Regions from separate parts of the Homo sapiens genome. Here all the other regions are linked to region 1. Evidence: promoter capture Hi-C in 16 types of primary human blood cells and fetal thymus (Javierre and others, 2016). All regions are on one chromosome and are shown on one strand. Each heading gives the region's core, a stretch centred on a gene start or on the middle of the fragment in contact. The rest is flanking DNA. Distances are from core to core; before and after follow the strand shown.

Region 1 (4,975 bases), core at 794-3,293:
GATTCTAGTGTATTTTCAGTGCAGTAAATATATCAAACTATCATGGTTTTGGTTGACCAAATACTTTTCTAATCACTTATTTCCTTCCCCCAGAATCAATGAATTTTAAGAAAGCTTTAGCTACAGGTTTATCTTGCTTACATCCGGATTTCCAGGTATCCTTCCCTCTGGAAGAAACACTCGGCTTCCCAGAAATTTACCAAGCATTTTACAAGGAGCTCTTTTATATTTGAAAAGAGAAAACTGTTTTGTCAAGTGATGAGAAATTCCAAAAAAATCCTCTAACCCAGACAGGATTCTAAATTTGGGGAAATCCATGGCACTCTTTCAATTTGGAGTGTGGGTCACAAAGATTCCTCAAGAGGTTTTTTTACACTATTTGTAGGAAACTGATATTTGCTGGGTGTTTTGCTTTGTTTTGGTTTGGTTTTAAATCCTTGCATGAATAAAAACAAATGCTAATTTTGTGTCTTTAATGTGTCAGGCATTTTATAGAACACAGAGTTCTAATTACTCCTGTGGCAATTACTGAAGGTGAAACTTTTGGAGAAAATAGGTACCTTGCCGAAATAAATATATTTTATTAGTAGCTTCTTGTGTTTTAAAGCAAATGGAACCTCTGAACTCCTAACACAAGGAGAAGGCAAAGCATTCAGTTCGGGTCTCTCTGGATCTACTGTGGAAGTGGTGGACTCCTCCTTCTGAAGATCTTTAAAAGCAATTGTGCCTGTGTTTATCTGACAAAAAGGACTGATGTGATGTGTTGCTAAATGAGAGACTTTTCAGATTCCCTTTCCACTCTGAGTTTAGAGTTCAAGGCGGGGGAATCTTAAAGGAGAACTTTCCACACTCTTGGAGTAAATAACAATTGAAATATAAAAAATCTGGCGGCGGGGGATGGAGGGGGCATTCTGTAATGGAACTTGTCAGCAAAAAGAAAATGGCAAATAAATGTGAGAAAGGGGCCGAAGGAGGGCAAGACAGTACATAGGGTGCCCCCCACCCACCCGGCTTTTAATGATTCAAGCAAAAAAATCTCTGCTTTGTGTGTAACTGGCACGGTGAACGTGGGAAAGGACACGAAGACCTTTCTCTCCCCACAGCTGGTCCAACTTTCCAATTTTCAGGTTGTTCACAGTGATTTCACTTTCAGTGGAAACGGGCGTCCCATCCCCAGGAAAGGAAGGCTTTCCTGCATGTGTAAAAAAGTAAACTGTTACTTTGTCCTTGCAAAAGAAAACTTCATTCTCTGAACTTCCCCGGGATCTGCAAAGCGCCCCGCGGAACTCCCGGTACTTAGTAGAAGCTCATTAAAGGTCTCTGTTCCCCTTTGCTCCCCGTTCGCCCGCTGGCCCTTTCTCAGAGCCAGACAGGCACAGCGCTGAGAAGGGAAGAAGTCCGAACAGGGAGCTGTGAAGACAAAATAAGGGAGTCCCGAGTCAGTACCCTTTAGTCCAAAGAAAGGGAGCGGGATGGGGGGAAAGGCAGCCCCGCCCTGGGACTGAAAAGTCTGGATTCTTAACAGCTGCAAGGTCGTGGATATTTTATGGGTTTTCTTCCTCACAAAATACACTCCTATAAGCAGAGATTCCCCCCCTCCACCCCGAAGAGAGGTGACGCAATGTCCTCAAACACTACCACCACCCCCAATAAAAAAGAAAAGGGAAGGGGGAGCGTCTTGCAACCCCTTCGCTTCACACAAGTCCAGCCACTCCCTTTCCTCCCAGCCGCTTCCCATCCCTTCCCCCATCCCCTAAAAAGTTTGATGACCGCAAAGGAAACCGAAAAAAAGTTGTCTTGCCCCAGTCCTGGCGGGCCATCAGCATCTCTTTTGTTCGCTGCGAACCCACAGTCCCCCGTGACGTCACCCGGAGCCCGGGCCAATCGGCGCGCGGTCGGCTGCGGCGGCCGGCGGGCGGGCGGGCGGGTGGGGTGGGGCGGGGCGGGGACAGCCCGGCGGGTCTCTCCTCCCCCGCGCCCCGGGCCTCCAGAGGGGCGGGAGGGGACCGTCCCATATAAGCCCCGGCTCCCGGCGCTCGGACGCCCGCGCCGGCTGTGCTGCACAGGGGGAGGAGAGGGAACCCCAGGCGCGAGCGGGAAGAGGGGACCTGCAGCCACAACTTCTCTGGTCCTCTGCATCCCTTCTGTCCCTCCACCCGTCCCCTTCCCCACCCTCTGGCCCCCACCTTCTTGGAGGCGACAACCCCCGGGAGGCATTAGAAGGGATTTTTCCCGCAGGTTGCGAAGGGAAGCAAACTTGGTGGCAACTTGCCTCCCGGTGCGGGCGTCTCTCCCCCACCGTCTCAACATGCTTAGGGGTCCGGGGCCCGGGCTGCTGCTGCTGGCCGTCCAGTGCCTGGGGACAGCGGTGCCCTCCACGGGAGCCTCGAAGAGCAAGAGGCAGGCTCAGCAAATGGTTCAGCCCCAGTCCCCGGTGGCTGTCAGTCAAAGCAAGCGTGAGTACTGACCGCGGGCTGAAACAGGCTGCCTCAGGGATGGGACCCTAAAGCCGACCAAAGTTGGGGCTGAAGTTTTGTGCGCGCGCGTGTGTGCGAGTGTGTGCGCGCTTTACTGAGAGAAACCAGCTGTGCACACAAAAGGACCGAGTTTTGAGCACGCTGGTTCTGAGGGCCTGGGATGATAAGACCGTGCATTGGAGGACGAGGACTCTGCGACTTTCCCGTGTTCTAATAAATTCTGCACGTTCAGATTGTCCTTCTAGGAATTAACCAAAACTTGCCTTTAAAGAGAAAAATGATGCATGTCTATAAATTTTCCGTCTGGGATTAGTGTGGTCCTTACTGCTACTTATTTCCTTCTGTTAAATAATTGGTCAAATATTTTCAACATGGGGGTGGAAAGGGGGTATTGAAATAGCTGTCTTGTTTCTAACTAACTTGGAAGAGATGTAATTGGTTCAGACCTCTTTAGGGCCGCTCAGGATACTTCACCAAGAACAGAGGTTGGAATTCTTTCCGTTTTTCAAAGACACACCCTCCTTTTGCTTTGAGAAAGCTGCTTAAAGTTGTCCTTTTTGACTATTACTCCAAAAGAATATTTAAGTTCCTTGCATGTTTTAAAAATGTGACTTCAATTGTCTGCCTTCCAAAATGTTTCCAACTTTTTTATGTAGACCCCTGGCCAGATGGAAATGACATCATTGTATATAACTTTTAGCAAAGTTAAAAGGAAAAAAATATGTACGTCAATATTCACATGAAGAAAATTCCATAATTTTGGGAAAAGGAGAAATGCAAATGTAACGTTTTCCTTCAATTATTTGCAGCCGGTTGTTATGACAATGGAAAACACTATCAGATAAATCAACAGTGGGAGCGGACCTACCTAGGCAATGCGTTGGTTTGTACTTGTTATGGAGGAAGCCGAGGTTTTAACTGCGAGAGTAAACCTGAAGGTAAGTGACAACAAGCCCCATAGTTAGTATCTTTTAATACATGAAGTGGTAATTGTTAAACTTTGCATTAGTAAGTAAAAATACATACACCATTTTTCTAATAGAATTACCTGTCATTTCCTCTTAAGTTTAAAAACTGCTTATATTTGCTTTTCACATGCTTTTACCTTTAAAACAAAGAAACGAATCTTTCCCAAATTAGTTCCTAGAGTCTTCTTTTTGCTTTACTCTCCCAAAGTTTTTGATGAGAAAAATGAAAGATTTTGTGTGTCCTCCGACAAAAAAAATTGCTTATAAAATTTTAATTTATTAGAAAGCAGTCTCAAATCTTAAACTGTTAGTTTATGAGCCAGAAAACACTTTGGGGACTTACATCGTAAAATGATTTGTCAGCGGCAGTTAACACAAAACCATTAGCCACTTCAAAGTTCTCATTCCTTTAGGACCAATGATATTTTTCTCATAAATTATAGCAACTCTGTCAGAGAAGCACTGATCAGGGGAAAATGGAAATCATAGGATTAACAACTGTCAAGGCCTTGTGGGAGGTGGGGATCTTCGAATTGTTTGTTTGTTTTTGTTTTGTTTTGTTTTTGAGACAGAGTCTTGCTCTGTCACCAGGCTGGAGTGCAGTAGCACTATCTCAGCTCACTGCAACCTCTGCCTCCAGGGTTCAAGCAATTCTCCTGCCTCAGCCTCCTGAGTAGCTGGGACTACAGGCACATGCCACCACACCCAGCTAATTTTCATATTTTTAGTAGAGACGGGGTTTCACCGTATTGGTCAGGGTGGTCTCGAATTCCTGACCTCAGGTGATCCACCCGCCTCAGCCTCCCAAAGTGCTGGGATTACAGGCGTGAGCCACTGTGCCCGGCCAATCGTTTGCTTTTTATGTGAACCTTGCTTTGACTTTCTGAGTCAGAGATTGGAATGTGAAACCCTTCACAAATCTAGCTCTGTCATAAGTTAGTACTTTATATGGCCTTTTCCTAAGAGCCTGAGATTTTTCTACAATATGAATAATTTACAGAAAATTTGACAATATGTCAAGGTCAAAAACCATGGCCTTATTAGAGCTTAGGATAAAAATCTGTATCTCTCACTTCATTTTATTCTTTGAGGTGTACCATGTTACTTGTGGAATAGAGAAGTGGGTTTTCCTTTAGAGGGGATTAGTGAACTAGAAAAGCTTGTACCTAAGTGAGGCTCACATGGACTTTCCTTTTCCCCTCAGCTGAAGAGACTTGCTTTGACAAGTACACTGGGAACACTTACCGAGTGGGTGACACTTATGAGCGTCCTAAAGACTCCATGATCTGGGACTGTACCTGCATCGGGGCTGGGCGAGGGAGAATAAGCTGTACCATCGCAAGTAAGGAAGAGATTGTGTAAAATGATGCCAAAATATCAAATATGAATTTCTCTGTTACCATCACTGTCATTTTCTGTTATCCATGACTGGATATTCCGAACTTTGAGGTTTGCCCCTGGTGACCAGGTACTCTTAAGTGGTCACCCAACTGGTTCCTGTGTTTCTTAAAGACGGGTATGAGCACAGAT
Region 2 (4,975 bases), core at 1,808-4,307, 300 kb before region 1:
GTGGCTTTGACAAGGGAAAGTACTGGAAGTTTGGGGCCTTTTGGAATATGCTTACTGCTTGAGATAATGCCTGAAGGTTGAGACTGATATGAATTATTTAGACCTTTAGAGAGATTCTTTACGATGGAATCAATTTTACTTATCTTTTCTTTGCATAGTCAGACTGAAATGGTCAAACCTCTGGAGTGAAACTGACTTTACCAACAGCAGCAAAGAGAAAGTTCTGATGTTCACTACCGTGTTGCTGATAAAACCTAAAATTGATTGAGATGCCCCTTGGGAGGTCTCAAGGGAACTTAAATCCTGTTGCTATAAAGTGTTATAATAATCTCCTTTGTATGTTATATTCATGAGATGTGTGATATGCATTTAATGAGAACTCAGACAAGAGGGTAGAAGCTTGGTCTCTTTAAAGCAACGTAGAATAAAACTCAGAGGTTGTATTGCAAGTTCACATTTTATTTTTTTCTCGGGAGGTTTTGGCTTTCTGGCACAAAGAAGTGTCAGGTCTAAGAGGTTATCTGTTTTTAGTGTGACTGAAGTGACCGTATGTCCTGATTTGCCCCAAAGGGTTTCAGTTTACACCTGTTGTCTTAATTGTCAATAGCCCACCTTTTCATTTTCTAAAGTGTCCTGGTTTAGATGATAAATGACATGGTCACCTTTGTCATCCTATAGTGTACCTCTGGACTGGGAAGAAGAGACCTGTGTTCTAGTACTATTTCTTCCACTAACTAGCTCTGTGCTCAGTAAATTAATTTTCCTCGTAGGGATTTAGGTTCCTTCTCAGTCAACAAAGGGCTATTTAACCCAGGGATCCAGGGACTAGCCTCCTGGCCAGTGAACAACATTGCATGTTTTTGTATGAATTTTGTATATATGTCTTCATATATATCTTTGTATGTATATTTTTTTTCTGGGGAGAGTTTCTGTAGCTGTCATCATATTTTTCAAAGGGTTTTATGATCCCCAAATGGTAAGGAACCACATTGGATGAACTCTGCAGACTTATTAATCTCCAGAATTCTGTGCTTGTGTGGTTATGATGCTTTTAAAATAGAACTTGGGAGTCAGTTAAAATATTGTCTGAGAATATCTCCACAGTGAGAACTGTACCATAATTGATTTTCCCTGTACCAAACAAATAAATGGAATCTTATTTTTAGAGACAGGCAGCCCACGCACTGCAGTGATGAAAGGACTCTCCAACGAGGCAGACAGGAACCCTGCAGTTGGGAATACAGAGCCTTCTCCTATGGGAAGACCACAGGAAAAAGAAACACCCAAGGGGGAGGCATGAGTCTTTGTGAAGTAAGGATGATTTACAAGGCAACCAAAGAAATGTCTTGGCTTTCTTATCTAAGGCTGATAGAAAAGAGAATGGAAGATAAGTAATTAAGGAAGTAATTATACTATAGACCAAAAGAAGGGACAGGGAGCTAGGAGTCTGCGGATGTTTTCCGTTCTGCCATTAAACTAGAGCATGACCTTGGGCAGATTAGTTTCCTCCGCTGCAAAACCAGGATCAAACTCTGTGATTATTTAATTGTCATGACTCAAATCTCTGTACTTGCTCATTTCAGCTCATTTCCCCCCTTTCAGTGACCTTGATGAAATTTTCCTGTGCCTCTTTTTAGTTTTTCAGAATCAATTCACTTGCCTAAGTCCTGCTATACTGCATTTTTTCATAAAGGATGCCTCACTGAGAACATTTTATATTTTAAGCACACCTATTTATTGTAGAGAGAAAATCTGCTTTGAAATTATGGCCAGAACTTTACTAGTGCGTTCTTTTGAAGAATGTAGCACTTGAGCAAGAAAACCTAGAGGTCGTTTTTTGGTTTAGAGTGACCACTGAAACAATGATGAAAATAGCTATAAACAGTTCAAAAAGTGATTTGAGTAAAATTGTTCAGAGGATCAGACTGGAGCCTGGGAAGTCCTAGAGTCCTAGCCCTGATGGTAACAGGAAACGTTTGGTACTAACACAAAATTCCGTTCGAATTTTTCATCAAGTAACTCATGGGTGATGATGAAGAATTTTCTGTTTACCTTGTTTGCATTGTTGAACGACTCTCATTTACAATTTCTGCTCTAATATTTAGATTCAGGGACAACTCAAAGCACAACAGTAATAATTGTTTGTCAGGCAGCATTATCCAGTAGACTGGCTCAGTGGTCTCTGGAGTGAGGTGTGAGCACCTCAGGGGAGGTGCAAGATGATCCATTGGATCATGGGGAAAATGTTAAACCCTTATTTAAACTTCTATTAGGTGTACTATCAAGCATGTTTAGGGGATCCCCAGGCTAAGCCATTGTTTATTCTTTGTGAGGTGTTTGTCTTGGGAGATATATACATACAATGTGGTGTTGCTATAATGAGTGCTGAGATTTCAACCCTATAAGAGCCATGGGCTCTGGAGAACTGTGAACTGGGACATTTCTAATGTGATGAGGATTGACAGGTTGTGTCTGATACCATGTGCTAACAGCCTGAAGATATTGAGAAAAAGGACTACACAAAATGAATGACCAATGGACAGTGGATTTGATACACGGTCCCTTGATAGTGACTTTTGAGGTGAAAGTCACACAGTTCAGCTATCTGAGGATTCTGGCAGGCATCACTATAATCACCACCCCCTACCCCTAAAAGGACTCGTATTTTTCCTTGTCTGTTTTCTTTTATCAAGTGGCAGGTAAAACAAAATCTCAAGTTGATTATAGCTCTAGTATCACTTATGTCAATGTCATTCAAAATAATAAAGAATGAGGGGGAGAAATGGACAAACTCTTATGAGGAAAAAAATGGAATCCAATAAAAAGGTAGTATCCAAGGTAAGTTTTAATGCTTGGCTGAGGCTAGTGGCTTCGTTAGAATAACGTGGGAAAATTTTTAAAAATTCTAATGCCTGAAACCCACCCCCAGAGATTTCCACCAGAGATTCCTGTCTTAATTGTCTGGAGTGGAGCCTGGCATCAACTTAACCTCCCATGTTTTGCTGGTTTGAAGACCTGCAAGGAATGTCCTGCCGTCAGTTAATTTCTGTAATAAACATTAAACATGCTGGCTCTCTTTCTCTCAGACTCTTAGGAGGAGCCATACTTTTCCCAACCCATTAAATATTCATGGCCTTGAGAACTGATAAAAGTAGGAGCTGGTACCTATATAACGTAAAAGCTACCATTAGAGAAAGTAAGAAACTTGGCATTTGATAGAAGAAATATTGGTCGTTCTATCATAAATTATTTACTCTCATGCTGTTCCTTTAAAGACATACTTCCTGATTTAAAATTCCTCTCTCCCTTTTTCATATTCAAGTGTGGACATTAACTTCTTCCTTGTCTATCTGGTGGTGCAACTCAGTAAAGAAAAATGTTGAAAAATCGTGTAATGTTAAAAGAACTCTAGGAAGAAAAAAAAAAAAGAATTGGTTACCTCAATTCGTTCACCATTTTTTCAAGGGAAATGAATATTCGGATTTCCCTTTTAAGTTATTAGTTGCTTTGGGGATGATATATCTAAGGTTGCTCAGCCATACTTCTCAAATTGGAATCTGCAGACAGAACTCATCCATTGTTTGGGTGTGCTTCCCCTTTGTGATACAGATGCTTTCCTGTTGAATCCCTTCTGATGACATATGGAGCCACAGGAAATTTAGGGAACAAAAATGGTTTCTACATAAAACAAATGTATACACTTTTGGGGAGATTCCTCTTTTTGGTTTATTCTTGGCACTTTGAAGTGTAAAAAAGAGGGAAGTTAAAAGTACAACAATTGGCATAAATACACATGGATGAAGGAAGAAATCTGATTGCTCTCCATCTCTTTCCACTCTTACATATAACCTGTGTATCTGTGGGGTCAGTCAGGAAAAGAGTATGATAAGAATAGTGGTTTAATAAAGGGAATTTATTATTGGAAACTAGTAAAAAACAATGCGTATTAGTCTGTTCTTGCATTGCTATAAAGAATTACCTGCGACTGGGTAATTTGTAAAGAAAAGAGGTTTGATTGGCTCATGGTTCTGCAGGCTGTAGAGATAACATGACTGGAGAGGCCTCAGGAAACTTACAACCATGGCGGAAGGCAAAGGGGAAGCTGGCACGTCCTACATGCCTGGAGCAGGAGGAAGAGAGAGCAGGGAGAGGTGTTGCACACCTTTAAACAACTAGATCTCATGAGAACTCACTCACTATCATGAGAACAGCAAGGGGGAAATCCCCCCTGCCCCCCCCCCCCGCCCATGATCTAAACACCTCCCACCAGGCCCCTCCTCCAACACTGGGGATTATAATTCGACATGAAATTTGGTCAGGGACACAAATCCAAACCATATCACAATGGTATTGGAAGAGAGGAAGAAATCAAACAGGGAATGGAGGGGCAAAAGAGAGGTTAGTGGCAGCAGCAGATCAGTACCAGGAGGCATCTGGGGAGGAGATAGTATGAGCAGAGGCAGGAAACCAGGGCTTCTGGATGCAGTCAGTAACCATGGCAAAAGCTGCCTTCCGGAGCCAGGTGGGATCAGGGAGGGAGGAGCTTCTTTGCTAGACTAGAACCAGAAAAGGGAGGGAGCAAATATCCTGACTTTTCCTTTCCCCAGCCCTCCAATACGTCTCTAAGTGCTTACAATTGCCTGAACCTAACAGGAAGCCAATCGTTTCTAACTGCAATACAATTTTAGCAAAACAATACTAATTGTCACATTAAATTAATCTTGTTAATTTGAACTGTATTGGTTTGGTAGTTTTGTTTCTAATTTGTAAATTTGTTTTGGTATTACAGTTGTTTAGCATAATGAGTTTATATCTAGTTTTACATTTGTATATATTTTTAAAGTAACATTCTAATGAAAGTAATTCATCAACATTAGGGGCTCAGAAGAATATTTTTCCTCCAAAAACAGGGTATACATTACTCAAGTTTGACAATAATGACATAAAATTCTGATAGCAGGAATCACCCAGGACT
Region 3 (4,975 bases), core at 1,645-4,144, 290 kb before region 1:
TCTATTTTTTTAAGAGGTAGTAGAGCAGGGTTGTCCAATCTTTAGGCTTTTCTGGGCTACACTAGAAGAAGAAGAATTGTCTTGGGCCACACATAAAATACACTAACACTAATGATAGCTAATAAGCTAAAATTTAAAAATCACACACACAAAAATCTCATGTTTTAAGAAAGTGCTAATTTTAGCAAATTTTGGAAAGCTTCTCAAAGTAGAAGAGAAAGGAAGAGGTGTTAATAATTCTACTACTCTTCTAGGCTCCATTACAGGTAATATTTGACATATTTCTATCTAGATTATTCTATTTTTAAAGAAATGGCTGAGGTAATATTGTGGATATAGTTTCACATCCTGTTTTTTTTTTTTTCACATAAGTAAGTGTATATATATCACAAGAATTTTCCAAAAACACCATAATGTGGCAATGACTAATGTTGGGTATTCAGCAGTTTTAAATTCTTTTTTGTTTGTTTGTTTTTGTTTTTTGGAGACAGAGTTTTGCTCTTGTTGCCCAGGCTGGAGTGCAATGGCACAATCTCGGCTCATCGCAACCTCTGCATCCCGGGTTCAAGCGATTCTCCTGTCTCAGCCTCCCCGAGTGGCTTGGATTACAGGCACGCACCACCACGTCTGGCTCGTTTTGTATTTTTAATAGAGATGGGGTTTCTTCATGTTGGTCAGGTTGGTCTCGATCTCCCAACCTCAGGTGATCCACCCGCCTTGGCCTCCCAAAGTGCTGGGATTACAGGCCTGAGCCATCGCGCCCTGCCAGTTTTAAATTCTTATCATAAATAATAATGAAATGCATATTTTTGCATAATTCTTTGTGTATACTGTGGTAAAATATGCAACATAAAATTTAGCATTGTAACCATTTGAAGCCATTCAATTCCATGGCATTAAGTATATTCACAGTGTTATGCAACTATCACCACTGTCTAGTTCCGGAACTGTGCATAAATCTGCCTGAATTTCACACCATTTCTGCATAATAAATTCATAGAGAGTAGAGTATTGCATTAAAAGAAAACATAAATATTTTAAAGTACATCCAGAAAGGTGGTACTCATTTGCTTTTCTGCATATAAGAATATTGGTTATAACATTCTAGTTAGTCCTTATTTACACTATCATTCAAAATACCTTTGCTAATTTATGAGTAAAAAAATAAGATCTTATCTTTTATTTTGTTTGCATTTGATTATTATGAGGCTGAATATTTTCTAGTATGTTAATTAACTATTTTATTTTACCATGAGAAATGTCCGTATGCCATGAGAAGGGTCATGAGAAGGTGAAATCACAACTCTGCTCTCTGCCCCACCTTCCTGATTCAACTAGAGGACTCTATTCTTACCTGCTTTTTATCTTAGTTTCTGTGAAGGATTTTATTGGAAGAAAGGATCCCTTGGCTAATGTTTGAAAACGACAAATCTGGACTCATGGTTTTCAAATATTTGTGTGTATAAGTAATACCTGAGAAATGTGTTAAAAATACAGATTTCCTAAGACCTATCTCAGAAGTCTCAGAAGCCAGGGGATTTGCATGTTAATCTGGTGCTAGGTTATCTCTTGCAGACTGTCCAAAACCCACATTTTGAGAAATGCTGGCTTATCTTGTTTCCCATAAACTAGGACTCACAAGATGATTCTAAATCTAAGATGATCTTGAGTGGGGTTTAATAAAACCAATGTGGTGTTAACTAAAATGGAATCACACAAGATGAGAGATTTTCTTTTGCCTTCTCTTTCAGTCCTTCTGAATAGATTAAGAGAAGTCTCAATTTGATGTGAGTGCATCTTTAACGTAGCACATATTAACCACCCTTTTAAAAAAAACAGAAACAGGCCTTAGGCTCAGAGCTTTTAGCAGGCAATAGTATCCGCTTAAATTTTAATGGCATTATTTTTTATTCAGTTTATTTGTATGGTTACCTTTTAATTATGAAAAGTTATATTAGAATTTTAATTATAGTAGTGATATTAAGGTATTATATTAGGAAATAACAGTAGAAGTATTATGGGTAAAAATAGTGAAGGTTGTAATCAAATGAATCATATCTATGAATTACTGGTTTGGAACATGAGCTGCTGTACAGAAAGAGCAGATCTAAATCCAGACCTGGGTTGGGGGTGGTTTGGAAGATCCTTTGAAAGGGGACAGAAGTGGAGGTGGCTAAGGAGCTTTGGAAACAGCATTGGACGCTATGTTCTCGGTGAAGGGACAAAGAGGGACACTTCTTCATAATTTTTACCTTGTGGCTCGTACTGCCAGCCGCTTTAACAGGGGTGATGCACTTTGCTGTTTGCTTCTGCAGATGATTCAGGTTAAAACAGAAGAACTTAAGTCTACCTTCAGTGACACATACGTGATTCTTTGCAGGACTGAAGAGTACTAGGCCTTGCCAGCTGGCAGCCCAGGATTTAGCAGAAGGTTAAAGATGCTGCCGTGAAAAGTTACAGATACTTTCCCTTAGCCTCTTCTCTAACGCCATGGAAGAAAAAAAAAATCACTGACTCACTATGCCATGTAAGGCATAAGGAAGACTCTAAGAGAGTTTGTAATGGAGTCCCTTTTAAAGCATGGTAAAAACTGAATTATTATTGACTAAGAAAGTTTCAGGCAAAAATAAAATCCAAATATTATGGATTTGAAAAAGCTGATTCTATTATTTTTTAATTTTTATTTTAAAACATTTTTATTTTACTTTAAGTTCTGGGATACATGTGCGGAACATGCAGGTTTGTTACATAGGTACACATGTGCCATGTCATTTGCTGCACCTATCAACCCGTCATCTAGGTTTTAAGCCCTGCATGCATTAGATATTTGCCCTGATGCTCTCCCTCCCCCGACTCCCTGACAGGCCCCATTGTGTGATGTTCCTCTCCATGTTTCCATGTGTTCTCATTGTTCAACTCCCACTTATGAGTGAGAACATGCAGTGTTTGCTTTTCTGTTCCTGTGTTAGTTTGCTAAGAATGATAGCTTCTGGCTTCATCCATGTCCCTGCAAAGGACATGAACTCATTCTTTTTTATGGCTGCATAGTATTCCATGGTCTGTATGTGCCACATTTTCTTTATCCAATCTATCATTGATGGGCATTTTTAGGTTGGTTCCAAGTCTTTGCTATTGTGTGTGTGTGTGTGTGTGTGTGTATATATATAGATCATATATATATGATCTATATATATATATGATCTATATATATATATATATGATGATCTATATATATATACACACACACACACACACACACAATAGCAAAGACTTGGAACCAACCTAAAAATGCCCACTCTTGTTGCCCAGGCTGGAGTGCAATGGTGTGATCTGCAACCTCTGCCTCCCAGGTTCAAGCAATTCTCCTGCCTCAGCCTCCCGAGTAGCTGGGATTAGAGGCATGTGCCACCACGCGTGGCTAATTTTGTATTTTTAGTAGAGACAGGGTTTCACCATGTTGGTCAGGCTGGTCTCGAACTCCTGACCTCAGGTGATCCACCCGCTTTGTCCTCTCAAAGTGTTGGGATTACAGATGTGAGCCACGGTGCCCAGCCAAAGAAGCTGATTCTAAACCAACAACCATGGTGTTTTCCAATAGACTGTTTAGTATTCATATAAGAAGCATTATTTACAATGCTAACAATTTTCTTTTCACAATAATCATTTATCTAACTGGCTGTAAGATAGGGTAAACTATAGTTTACCCTATTATCTGATTTACCGAACAGATCTTGGTTTTTAAAATGTTAAATCATGTTTTTGGAATAAAAATGGTAAATGAAGAATGCTTGTCACCACATGTTAGTAATGGAAGTATTCTATTATTTTTAATTTTATGTATGTACAGACAAGAGCTATATGGGAAAGTAGCTATTACAGACCCATTATAGTTTCATCATTTATAACCAGGGTTGGTAGTAAAGCAACAGAAATACATCTTCAATGCAGACTTGCTCCCAGCATCTCTTTCCTTTCATCCTTGACCATATTGCATCCTGGACAGGAAGAAGACATCCTCAGCCCACCACCCCTTCCCCTCCAATGTGGACTGAGTGTTGGGTCAACTGATAAGCAGTGCAGACTCTTCATTTTGCTTTGTTGGTGCCTTGGAGGCATGTGAGGGCACAGCCTCAAATTCCAGAGACCTTGCCTTCAGGATTTGAGGTGGGCAAAGATGTGAAAGAAGACCTTTAGCCACTCAGTGTTATCAAAAGCAATCACCAAAGAAGTTTTTGCATCTGGCATTGTGTTGGGACGTCCATCAGCAGTACCGTACGGTCTCTTTACTGGACAAGTATTTACACCTTGTTAACAGCAGTGTACACCCGGTGGAAAACTCCTATTCATGGCATGGCAGAATTGTAAACATTTCCTCCTTCACCAAATTTGTGGATGGAATAAAATGTAGCCTTAAACTTTATTGGCTTCTCCAGTCTTCCACCTGCAGGGCCCAAAAACTTTCAGAAGTAGGAATCCTGTGGCATCTGCTAATGGTGATTGGAAGAAAGAGTAGAGGTGACAGTATCTATGGGTGCAGTACCAGAACTATTACGAAATGCTTCCAGCTGCGATTTCAGAGGAATCCCCCCTGAACCCCTGGACGTGGTTCTCCTATTTCAGTCACACTTCTAGCTATGACTCTGCTTAGACAAGATGAAGTTGATGGATCCATTAGAAAGTTTCCACTGAACTTGTCTGGTCCAATTTCTCTTTCCTCAAGGGCATGGACACAGCTTTGGTTCTCCTTCCTGAACTTACTTGTCTGCTGCTCCCATTCTTCCCATTAGGGCATAGAAGATTACCTAGCAGGTGAAGGCACCCTACACTCTTTGGTTTTTAATAGGAGAAACCCTCCAGTCAGAGATAAATCTTACTTGGAGTCTAGGTAGCTATAAGTCTGAAGTGTCAGTACGACATTTCAGCACTTTCAGTAGGAGCTCCCAAGGGCCAAATAAATCACAGAACCAGCCTTTGA

What was found. The method cuts DNA at HindIII sites, captures the fragments that hold promoters and counts their contacts. A CHiCAGO score of 5 or more calls a contact.
Region 2: a fragment that was not itself captured here is called in contact with the fragment with the promoter of FN1 in region 1 in 2 of 17 cell types (endothelial precursors and M1 macrophages); the score reaches 6.4 in endothelial precursors.
Region 3: a contact is called between a fragment that was not itself captured here and the fragment with the promoter of FN1 in region 1, in 3 of 17 cell types (endothelial precursors, M1 macrophages and M2 macrophages). The highest score is 8.7, in endothelial precursors.

The regions. Positions count from the first base shown.
Region 1 is chr2:215,433,136-215,438,110 of GRCh38, reverse strand. FN1 (fibronectin 1) reads left to right here and starts at 2,043. Exons shown (of 46, transcript NM_212482.4): 1 at 2,043-2,456; 2 at 3,287-3,415; 3 at 4,650-4,787. The coding sequence starts at 2,309. It overlaps FN1-DT (FN1 divergent transcript), which reads right to left and starts at 2,420. Exons shown (of 2, transcript NR_187198.1): 1 at 1,802-2,420; 2 at 1-1,192. RefSeq lists silencers at 1,860-1,949, 1,960-2,019 and an enhancer at 3,532-4,731. The HindIII fragment of the contact is 4,490 bases long and covers 117-4,606 here.
Region 2 is chr2:215,737,213-215,742,187 of GRCh38, reverse strand. It overlaps LINC00607 (long intergenic non-protein coding RNA 607), which reads left to right. Exons shown (of 10, transcript NR_037195.1): 5 at 1,167-1,311. Among named protein-coding and RNA genes, the nearest start is that of LINC01614, 22 kb to the right of the region's middle. The HindIII fragment of the contact is 5,311 bases long and covers 402-4,975 here.
Region 3 is chr2:215,719,771-215,724,745 of GRCh38, reverse strand. All of the region lies in intron 5 of LINC00607 (long intergenic non-protein coding RNA 607), which reads left to right. It overlaps LINC01614 (long intergenic non-protein coding RNA 1614), which reads right to left. Exons shown (of 2, transcript NR_132383.1): 2 at 3,800-4,975. Among named protein-coding and RNA genes, the nearest start is that of LINC01614, 4.2 kb to the right of the region's middle. The HindIII fragment of the contact is 5,386 bases long and covers 202-4,975 here.